Linked DNA regions of Homo sapiens: all the other regions are linked to region 3. The links are contacts of gene promoters, found by promoter capture Hi-C in blood cells and fetal thymus (Javierre and others, 2016). All regions are on one chromosome and are shown on one strand. The core of a region is centred on a gene start or on the middle of the fragment in contact, and the rest is flanking DNA. Distances in the headings are between cores, read along the strand shown.

Evidence for each region. The method cuts DNA at HindIII sites, captures the fragments that hold promoters and counts their contacts. A CHiCAGO score of 5 or more calls a contact.
Region 1: a contact is called between a fragment that was not itself captured here and the fragment with the promoter of ODF1 in region 3, in 1 of 17 cell types (M0 macrophages). The highest score is 5.1, in M0 macrophages.
Region 2: a fragment that was not itself captured here is called in contact with the fragment with the promoter of ODF1 in region 3 in 2 of 17 cell types (M0 macrophages and M1 macrophages); the score reaches 6.6 in M0 macrophages.
Region 4: a contact is called between a fragment that was not itself captured here and the fragment with the promoter of ODF1 in region 3, in 2 of 17 cell types (M0 macrophages and M2 macrophages). The highest score is 5.3, in M0 macrophages.

The regions. Positions count from the first base shown.
Region 1 is chr8:102,308,467-102,311,166 of GRCh38, forward strand. The region is part of intron 20 of UBR5 (ubiquitin protein ligase E3 component n-recognin 5); the gene reads right to left. Among named protein-coding and RNA genes, the nearest start is that of UBR5-DT, 70 kb to the left of the region's middle. The HindIII fragment of the contact is 634 bases long and covers 1,069-1,702 here.
Region 2 is chr8:102,399,424-102,402,123 of GRCh38, forward strand. All of the region lies in intron 1 of UBR5 (ubiquitin protein ligase E3 component n-recognin 5), which reads right to left. Among named protein-coding and RNA genes, the nearest start is that of UBR5, 12 kb to the right of the region's middle. The HindIII fragment of the contact is 810 bases long and covers 952-1,761 here.
Region 3 is chr8:102,550,289-102,552,988 of GRCh38, forward strand. ODF1 (outer dense fiber of sperm tails 1) reads left to right here and starts at 1,301. Exons shown (of 2, transcript NM_024410.4): 1 at 1,301-1,759. The coding sequence starts at 1,440. LOC124901998 (a long non-coding RNA gene) reads left to right here. Exons shown (of 3, transcript XR_007061039.1): 3 at 219-308. LOC105375684 (a long non-coding RNA gene) reads right to left here and starts at 340. Exons shown (of 2, transcript XR_928478.3): 1 at 255-340. The HindIII fragment of the contact is 343 bases long and covers 966-1,308 here.
Region 4 is chr8:102,356,819-102,359,518 of GRCh38, forward strand. The region is part of intron 5 of UBR5 (ubiquitin protein ligase E3 component n-recognin 5); the gene reads right to left. Among named protein-coding and RNA genes, the nearest start is that of UBR5, 55 kb to the right of the region's middle. The HindIII fragment of the contact is 5,548 bases long and covers 1-2,700 here.

The DNA of each region.
Region 1 (2,700 bases), core at 136-2,635, 240 kb before region 3:
TAAGATTATAATGGAGCTGAAAAGTTCCTATTGCCTAGTGACATCGTAGCTGTTGTTAAATCATACTGTTTGTGGCAGTGCTGGCATAAACAAACCTACTGTACTGCCAATCATATAGAAGTACAGTACATACAATTTATGTACAGTATAATATTCGATAATGATAAAACTAGGTCACTGATTTCTAAAGTATTTACTATACTTTCTTTGGTTACTTTAGAATGTACTTCTTCTATCTATTTTTTTTAAAGTTAACTAAAACAGCCTAAGGCAGGTCCTTCAGGAGGTATTACAGAAGAAGGCATTGTAAATTGCACATTTTTTAAAAAGGCAGTAAAAAATTTTAAATATAGAAAAAGTGCTTAATACCTGGGTGATGAAACAATCTGTACAAAAAACCCTGTACATGAGTTTACCCTGCAGTAAAATCTCACATGTACTCCCAAGCCTAAAAGTTTTTTTTTTAAAAAAAAAAAAAAGAAAGAAAGAAAGAAATGAAAACTCTGCCCCTCCCCCCCAAAAAACCCTTAAGGATATAGGAAAGAAAGTTATTTTTTAGATAGCTACACAATGTGTGTGTGTGTGTGTGTGTGTGTGTGTGTGTAAGACAGAGTCTCACTCTGTCGCCCAGGCTGGAGTGCAGTGGCATGATCTCAGCTCACTGCAACCTCCACCTTCACCTACTAGGTTCAAGCGATTCTCGTGCCTGAGCCTCTTAAGTAGCTGGGATTACAGGCACAACCACACCCGGTTAATTTTTGTATTTTTTGTAGAGACAGGGTTTCGCTATGTTGCCCAGGCTGGCCTCAAACTCCTGGCCTCAAGGGATCCATCCACTTTGGCCTCCCAAAATGCTGGGATTACAGGTACAATCCACCATGCCCGACTGTGTACAATGTGTTTTAAGCATATTATTATTACAAACAAATCAAAAGGTTAAAAAAAATTTAGTGTAGCCTAAGTGTACAGTGTTTATAAAGTCTACAGCAGTGTACAGTAATAACATAAGCCCTCACATTCACCTACCACTCACTCACTGACTTACCCAGAGCAACTTTCAATCTTCTAAGCTTCATTTGTGCTAAATGCCCTATCAGGTGCACCTTTTTTTTATCCTTTAGACCGTATTTTTACTGTGCCTTTCCTATGTTTATGTAAACAACTACTTATCACTGTGTTACAAATGCCTACGGTATCCAGTACAGAAATACACTATATAGGTTTATACCCTAGGAGCAATAGGCTATACCATCTAGGTTCATGTAAGTGCACTATGTGATGTTTGTACAACAATGAAATCACCTAACAATGTATTTCTCAGAATGTATCCCTGTCATTAAGCAACACATGACTACGTAACTAGAATCTAGTCACATTTCACTCCTAACTCCACCCCCTGGGTAAGTCACTATCATCTCCCACCTGGATTATTATTATATCCTCCTAACTGGCACTCCTATTTACTCACTTTCACCCTAGTACTCTCAGCACGTCATAAGGAATCCTTTTAAAATGTTCACTGATATCAGGTCAATCTCGGCTGAAATTGCTCCAATAGCTTCTAATGCACTGTCTCCACATCTAACAAATACTCTATCACAACAAACCACAACATGTTTAAAACTAAATTCATCCTTTTCCCTTATCCCATTTGTTCCCCCTCCTATATTTCTTCTCTACCATCAACCATGCCCAAATCAGAAGCTTTATTAATTCTTTCATTCACTGCTAAAATCCAGTTACCAAGCTTTACAGGTTCTAGTTTCTTAAGATCTCTTAAATCCATCCCCTCCTTCCTCATTTCCAAAAGTTGACATTTACTTTGTTTCTAACCTGGATTATTGCCTGACTTTTTCCCTTTTTTTAAAATGTTTTTTGTTTGTTTGTTTGTTTGTTTTGAGACGGAGTCACGCTCTGTTGCCCGGGCTGGAGTTCAGTGGCGCGATCTCGGCTCACTGCAACCTCCGCCTCCGGGGTTCAAGTGATTCTTGTGCCTCAGCCTCCTGAGTAGCTGGGATTACAGGCGTGCGCCACCATGCCGGGCTAATTTTTGTATTTTCAGTAGAGATAGGGTTTCACCATGTTGGCCAGGCTGGCTTCAAACTCCTGACTTCAAGTGATCCACCCCACACTCTGCCTCCCAAAGTACCGGGATTACAAGCGTGAGCCACCACGCCCAGCCTACATTAACCTTTTTATCTGATCTCTAAACTTCTGATATCTATCAGCTGCTCTCTAAACACCCACCAGCCACTGCTGATCTTTTTTAAAAAATCAAAAGCACGTCATTCACTGGCTTATAATCCTCCTCCTCCTCCTCGCTTTCAGGCTGAAGTTTAGGTAGCGTTAGGTGAACACACAAACACCCTAGTGCCCCTCTCCAGCCTTTTCAGTTGCTACTCACTGACCCACAGGATCCCTACCAGAATTCTGGTCATATCAAAAAAAAGTACTTTCTCCCAACTTATTAATAAGATTCACAAAGGTTGCTCTTGGTGCCTGGGATAATACCTCCCAACTCCATCCCTGTGTCTAAGGGGCCTATCTGATCTGTCCGGGTATCGCTTCTTAAAGAAGTCTTTGGTACAGTCACAGTATGATTTATATCTCTCCCCTTTGTGCTCCTACAACATTATGCATGCCTTGCTCAAACACTTAAATTACACGATAATCACTGATGTACTTGTCTATGTAGTTTTA
Region 2 (2,700 bases), core at 107-2,606, 150 kb before region 3:
ACCATCATGCCCGGCTTATTTTTGTACTTTTAGTAAAAAGACAGGGTTTCGCCACATTGGCCGTGCTGGTCTCGAACTCCTGACCTCAGGTGATCAGCCAGCTTCGGCCTCCCAAAGTGCTGAGATTACAGGCGTGAGCCATTATGCCCAGCCTATATCTCATCAATTTACAATCACATCTAAAAAGGCAAAGTTTTCTTTAAACTATGTCTTCAAATCTATGTTATCTTAAACAATTTTTGGCTGGGTGCAGTGGCTCACACCTGTAATCCGAACACTTTGGGAGGCCAAAGCGGGTGGATCACGAGGTCAGGAGTTCGAGACCAGCCTGGCCAACATGGTGAAACCCAGTCTCTACTAAAATTACAAAAAATTAGCTGGGCGTGGTGGCAGGCGCCTGTAGTCCCAGCTACTCAGGAGGCTGAGGCAGGAGAATTGCTTGAACCCAGGAGGTGGGGGTTGCAGTGAGCCGAGATGGCACCGCTGCACTCCACCCTGGGTGACAGAGCAAGACTCTGTCTCAAAAAAAAAAAAAAAAAAAAATCAAAAATGCACATGGGGAAAATGTCTCTATCTCTAGTATTTTGACATGGATGCCAAAAATATCTGGCATAATATGTTACCATTGAAGGAAGTTGGGTGATGGATCCATGGTACCCCTCTGTACCAATTTTGCATCTTCTTTTGAGTCTGTAATTATTTCAAAATAAAAGGTTAGAAAAACAAGCTAGGTGCAGTGGCACTCACCTGTAATCCTAGCTACTTGTCTGTAATCCCAGCTACTCAGGAAGCTGAGGCAAGAGGGTTGCTTGAGCCCAGGAGTTCAAGATCAGCCTAGGCAACACAGCAAGACCCTGTCTCAAAAAAAAAGAAAGGTAGAAAAACAATACATGGCATACCCACCTGATGCCACTCCCTGAGCTCGCTAATCTATAACCTCACTCTTCTCCAAGCTTTCTCCCTGAGCCAGAAAAAGTTCCAAACACGTCTCAACCCGAAGTTTCAGGACGGTTTGGTGTGGCAATTGAAACACACCAGCTATCCCTGGCCTAGCACACTTTTTGCACATGAGAAGCACACAAGCATTTACTCAACAAGAAAAACTAATCTAACACTGTTCTCAAACTCTGTGCAAGCAATAGCATGGCAAATATTTACACAGCCCAAACTCTACCTCTTGTAGCAGTCTTTCATAGTGCTACTATCTATGGATGAGCCTCATTTCTCCCAACTAGACTGTGACCTTACAAGCACCGAAATGCATTTTAAAAAGCTATCCTTTCAGTATCTCACAGTTGTGTAGAGGACCTAGAATTTATGTAACTTAATCTAAATTTTTCCAATTTCGTGGTTAAAAAAAAAGAAGCGAACAAAAATAAACTACTCTAGCTTAGAGAGAGACACACAAAATCAAGGAACAGGAAAATACCCTATTCTCAAACAGACAGGTATAAAACCTGTAAGTCTAAGGGGAAAAGGAAGGTTGGAGGCAGTGAAGAACTGGCAAGTTTGGCCCTATTTGCCATCATCAATCAATGTTAAGACAAAGAAAAGAGGGTAAAAGAGCCTTTTTACTCAGTGGTCTTCAAGTTTTGCTGCTCCTGATGACGGTCCATCCCATGAGAAGCACTGTTTTAAATCAAGAGACCTCCTAACTGGGAAAAGCCACCACAATCCATGATTTTACTACAATTTGACTAGGTTATGTTACTCATACAATAATTTCAATTCAACTGTCCGAAAAACCTTCTACTTTAAAAAAGCTTAACCATATCATGTCCCCGATCCCCAAAAAATGCTATTACCTCTCAATAATGTCTTAAAATTGACCAAAGGAAGACAAAGACTGAATCTACATGTCAATTGAAGAAGCTTTTACATTCCCAGAGCCCTCTGAAGAGCAGAGAGACCCTAGAGAAAAGCAAAATACCAACTGTCCTCGAGTCCCTGCCACTCTAGAGTTTCATGAAACCAGAAACATTCAGGGATGGTATGGGGTGGCTGCTAATTCCTGTACTGTACTACAGTACTGACTCCTGTCTCTGCAGGCAAGTGTCGTATGTACTCTTCAGTAGCTCTCAGCTCTCAAAAGTAGCAGAAAGATGAACAGATGCCAACAAAATCAGTCCACATGTCATCTCTGACCTGCAAACCATGGCCTGCCAACCTACACTACAGAAGTCACTCATTTCTGTTTCTGCATCCCCTAGGCAGTGACAAAATCCTACCAGGAATCGTCTCAGGTAGCAGGAATTTGGGTTAATCTTCTATTGGCGACTATAGGAGGCAAAAAAAAAAAAGTACTTCCCCCAAAAAACAACTACAGAAACAAAAGGTCCCACTGCCCATACTCCCCCTACTCAATTATTCTCTAATCTACATGTAATAATCAGAATACCTGATAAGCAGAAAAAACACAATCACTTAAGGAAAACACCTAAGGATTTCCTGGAGATGAAGACAAGTTTAAACATCACTAGAAATATAAGCCTATTAAGAGAATGAATGTTTAGCCAGGCATGGTGGCTCATGCTTATAATCCAAGCACTTTGGGGGCTGAGGCAGGAGAATCACTTGAGTGTCAGAGTTTGAGACCAGCCTGGGCAACATGCTGAAACCCCATCTCTATGAAAAACACAAAAATTAGCCAGGTGTGGTGGCACGCACCTGTAGTCCCAGCTACTAGGGAAGCTGAGGTGG
Region 3 (2,700 bases), core at 51-2,550:
GAGGACAGAGAAGACTTTTAAGGTGAGTGGGATGATGGGTGGGGAAGGTTGAGGAATGACAGATTTCTATATGAAAGTCGCTGTGGCTACAATGTGGAAAATGGATTAGATGGGGCCTGGGCAGAGGTGGGGGAAGGCTTTCCCATTGGCTTCCTCCTTGCCATCCCCATAGCCATGATCCCCAGTCCAGATTTTTGTTGTCTCTTCTTGTCTTGCAGCAGAAAACCCCACTACTATTGTCCCTAGCAACTTACCTTCAGTGTGGCTGTCTCACTTCTGACAAAAGAAAAGAAAATCAACAATCCTTCGTTGGGCTCAAAATAAAGTTCAGAGTCCTTAGTCTGGCTACAGGTCCCTTCAAACCTGGCCCTTGTCTCCCTCACCAGTGTCACATCCAACCACTTGTCATCAATACCTGAGCTCTAGTTCATACAAGGGAGACTCGAGAGCTGGACCGCAGTTTGAGGTGAAAGGACCAGAGGAGTAGAGGCACCGAGAGCCAAATCTGAGGCCGAATCAGAGGTCTAGGATGTTAACTGAACAGAAAGTAAAGGAAACTGGCCGAAGCGGGGGTTTCAGGCAGTTGGCTTCCAGCATCTTCAGGCGGTTGGCTACAAGAACATCAAAGACCAACATTTGGGAAGCACTCAGGGACAAGACATCCGGAGGCTTGGATGCAAGACCAAAGGTGTAGTTGATGGGAGGTAGTTCCCCAGGACAGGCCCCCGAGGACTGACAGATGGGAGCTTAAGGACAGGACCCCCAACCAGTAGAGAAATGAGGTTCCCGAACAGCCATGACCACAGCTGGCGCAGAATGGGCAGGACTCAGAGACTTGTAACTCAGAAGGTCAAGGACAATGGCTGACTTGAGGATGACTTGGTAGGAGGAGAATGATGAGAACATTCTTTATATTCTACCTGTCTGGAGACAGAATGAATTCTAGAACAAAAGGAGCAAGGCCAAGCTTCCAATCAAGGCTAGAGCTAGAAGGTCATGGAGAAAGGCGTGGGCAGCTCCTGCCTTCGCCTGCACCAAGTTCAACAAACACACAGTCATAGCCATGGCTGGTCCCCAGAGCACACACAAGGCAAGGATGTTAGTGGCCAGCCCCATGCACCCCGATGAGCTATGCTCGCTTGGGAGACCCATCCTCCTTGAAGGTGAGTGAAATCTCAACACGAGTATGGTTCTGAGAGTAGCTCTGTAACTCTGAGGATGGTCTCTGGAGACCATGACTGTGTACAGTTCACATGGTAACCAGAAGACTATGACATACTTCAGAAGGTGGTGAGGTCATAGAACACAAGCTTTAAAGTAAGTGAATCATGTGTGCCTCATTTATTTTTAAAAGCAACTTCTGAGAAGGGCTTAGAACAAATTTTTTCCCGGAGTGCCATTTCCCAAAGGTACTCACAGAACAATCAGGTGTGACCATAATGGCTGCACTGAGTTGTCTCTTGGACAGTGTCAGAAGGGACATAAAGAAGGTGGACAGAGAACTAAGGCAACTGAGATGCATCGACGAATTTAGCACACGGTGCCTGTGCGACTTGTATATGCACCCCTATTGCTGCTGTGACTTGCACCCATATCCGTACTGCTTGTGCTATTCCAAGCGATCACGCTCTTGCGGCCTGTGTGATCTCTACCCATGTTGCCTGTGTGATTATAAGCTTTACTGTCTGCGACCATCTCTCAGAAGTTTGGAGAGGAAAGCCATCAGAGCCATAGAAGATGAGAAGCGAGAGCTTGCCAAGTAAAATAACTTATTTTTAAATTTTTATAGTCGGTATATTAGCCTTATAAGTTGGAATAAGGAAAAATATGTGACAATCAATAGTTGAACAAAGATTAAAAGGGTTCAGGATAATGACCCTGGTGACTTAGGAAAGATTTAAGGAAAGAAGAGTAAATGAGTCCATGATGGGAATTGTAGGGTTCTCAAAAGACAATGTAATGATGTCGATTGGCAAGGTCGTCGGTGGTTTATAGCAAGAATGCCAGTATGATAAATAATGCGGCTTTAATGAAGGGAAGAAACAGGGGGTGTCATTAAAAAGCCATTGGAAGCAGCAAACTAAACATTTTTCCTGGTTATGAGTAAAGTGATTTGAGTATATTTGGACTTACAGAAATGACTACAGGAGAAGTAATAATAATAGATCAAATCCTTAATGTGTGCCAGAGGCTTTACAAGCAGGAGAGCAAATTGAACAGTAGAGGCATTGCCTTGGTTTTGTGGGAATATCATTCTCCTATCCCCCCACTCCAGGCAAAGACTTACCTTGTATCTGGAATTAGGTCTATCATGTTGGCCTCCCCTCTAACTCTAGCAAAGGTCTTGCAAATAAACTATGGCACTGAGTTGTAGCTTTCAGGATAGACTTGAAAGGCTTTTTAATTGAATTGGGTAATTAAAAAGAGTCAGTTTTTTAAAAAAATTTTTGTTTTAGATTATATTTTCTTTTTGCCTGGAGAAAACTTTCCTTTTCTAACTTTTTACATATGCCATTTAGTCTGTTACTGTTGATGAAAAAGATGGTTGAAAGTGCTGTCCCTGGTTAAATAAATAATACATTCATGCACTGGAATAATAAGTAAATATAGAAAGGATTGATGAAGCATCTTACATATTGATGTATTAAGTCAAACAAGCAAAGTGCAGAAAAACTGATAGACAGATGACAGATAGATAGA
Region 4 (2,700 bases), core at 124-2,623, 190 kb before region 3:
AAAGTTCTTCCTTACAGTTGAATTCCAATTAATAAATGTAAAAGAAATGATAATTTTTTTAAAAAATCACCATTTGGCCAACACCACAGTAACAACTGATTCAGACAAAAAAAGAATCATCAATAAATGCTAAACTCAGTGAGCAAAAGTATGATGAGGAAGAGGATATTTGCAGAGTCACAAAGTATCTCCCCACAAAATGCATATTAAAGAAAAATGGGAAAATAGTAACTTTATAGTGGAGAAACAGGTAAACACCATCTTAACTAATCACAGGACACCTCCTTTCCAGTAATAAAACAACAGTAACATCACATGCCACCTGATATGATGCACTGAAAAGGGCACATCATCACTTCTGTGGTATTCTTGCAAAAAATGTATCACTTGAGTTTAATCACGAGAAATGATAAACAAATCCAAACATTCTACAAAATAACCACTGGTTTTTCAAACTCATCATGGCCAGAAAGATAAAGACTGAGGATCTGGCCCAGATTAGAGGAAACTAAAGAAGCATGGCTGCTTAGGGAACATAGTGAGAGACCCTGTCTCCACAAAAAATTTAAAAATTACCTACAAAACTTTAAAAAGTTAGCCAGGTGTGGTGGTGGCCCATACCTACATCCTAGCTACTTGGGAGGCTGAGGCAGGAGGATTGCATTAAGTCCAGGAGTTCAAGGTTATAGTGAGTTATCATTGTGCCACTGCCCTCTGGCCTGGGCAACAGAACAAGATCCTATCTCTATTTAAAAAAAAAGCAGCAGCAGCAGCAGCATGACAACTCAATGCAACTGGGATCCTGGACTGAATCCTGGACAAAAGGGTATTAGTGGACAACTGGAGAAACTTAAATAAACTCTGTATATTAATCAGTGATCAATGTTAATTTCTTGGTTTTGATAATATGATTATGTAAATGTAAAACATTAACACGGAAGCTGGGTGCAACGTACACATAAATTATTTGTGCTATTTTTGCAAACTTTTTATAAGGTCAAATTATTTCAAAATGAAAAATAAAATTTAAAAATAAATAAGAGTAGGCTGGGTGCGGTGGCTCAGGCCTGTAATCCCAGCACTTTGGGATGCTGAGATGGGTGGATCACCTGAGGTCCGGAGTTCAAGACCAACCTGGCCAAAATGGTGAAACCCTGTCTCTACTAAAAATACAAAAATTAGGAGGGCGTGGTGGCACGCGCCTATAGTCCCAGCTACTTGGGAGGCTGAGGCTGGAGAATTGCTTGAACCCGGGAGGCGGAGGTTGCAGTTAGTCGAGATTGTGCCACTGCACTCCAGCCTGGGTGACAGAGCAAGACTCTGTCTCAAAAAAAATTAAAAATTAAAAAATAAAAACTAAATAGAGTATAGGATTAGGAACAAATGCCAGTATATAAACTGATAAGCAAAACCTGGGATGAGCAGACTTTTACTGTAAAGGGCCAAATCATAAATAGTTTATGCTTTGGAGGCTAGTCTGTCCCAACTACTCATCTCTGCTGTTATAGTACAAAGACAGCCACAGATAATAAGTATGGCTGTCTTTCAATAAAAACTGGGGTGGCTGGATTTGGCATGCAGGCTATACTTTACTGATCCTTAAACTAAACAAAAAAATGTTCATCTTTAAGAAAGGTACTATTTGGCAACAGTATAACCGGTAATACTTATTCTTAAATATAATCAAAAATTTTTCAGTTTTATCACATGAAATAAAATTTCATGTTATTACATGCTATTTTCAGAATTCTTTATCATATACTGTGTGCCTAGGACCATTAAAAGAGCACATATAACATTTTAATAAAGACAAGAGCTATATTTAGTATAGCTAAAGGATGTACTCAACTAAAAACTTTCCTCACATTCTAAAATAAATTTAGTTCAGCATGAAAACACAAACGCAAAGAAAGTAATCATTTTGGTATCCCCCCCACAACCCTTTTCTTTTCTTTTTTTTTTTTTTTTTTGAGACGGGGGTCTCTCATTTCCATTGCCCAGGATGGCATACAGTGGCATTATCATGGCTCACTGCAGCCTCAACTTCCTGGGCTTAGATGATCCTCCCACCTCAGCCTCCTGGGTAGCTAGGACTACAGGCATGCGCCACCACATTCAGCTACATTTTTGTATTTTTAGTAAAAATGGCATTTTGCCATGTTGCCCAGGCTGGTCTTAAACTCTGGGACTCAACAGATCCACTCACCTTGGCCTCCCAACGTGCTGAGAGGTGTAAGCCACCACACCCAGGCCCAATTTTCAAATCTAACTTTTACTTTACCTACCAATTTGTGGTCTGGAGGGAAAAAAGCCAAACACTTCCTCCTCCATTTAATTATATTTTGAAACTAGTTACATTGCTTCTAGTTTTCTGTGATCAGCCTTCAAACACGTGGTGACTGAAGTAGCATAATCTAATCATTAACTGGGTATTTTCAGAAAATCTGGCCATTCAAGAATCAAGGTATAAAATGAGTAAAAGCACCTGACTTGAAATTTGTATATGGTTTCTTTAGTTTAACAGTATATAAACTTTAGATAAAAGTGTCTGAGTGCAATGCCTCAGACGTGTAATCCCAAAACTCTGGGAGGCCAAAGCAGGAGAATCACTTGAGGCCAGGAGTTCAAGACCAGCCTGGGCAACACAGCAAGACCCTATCTCTAGAAAAAAATAAAAGTAATAAATAACGTTTAATTACA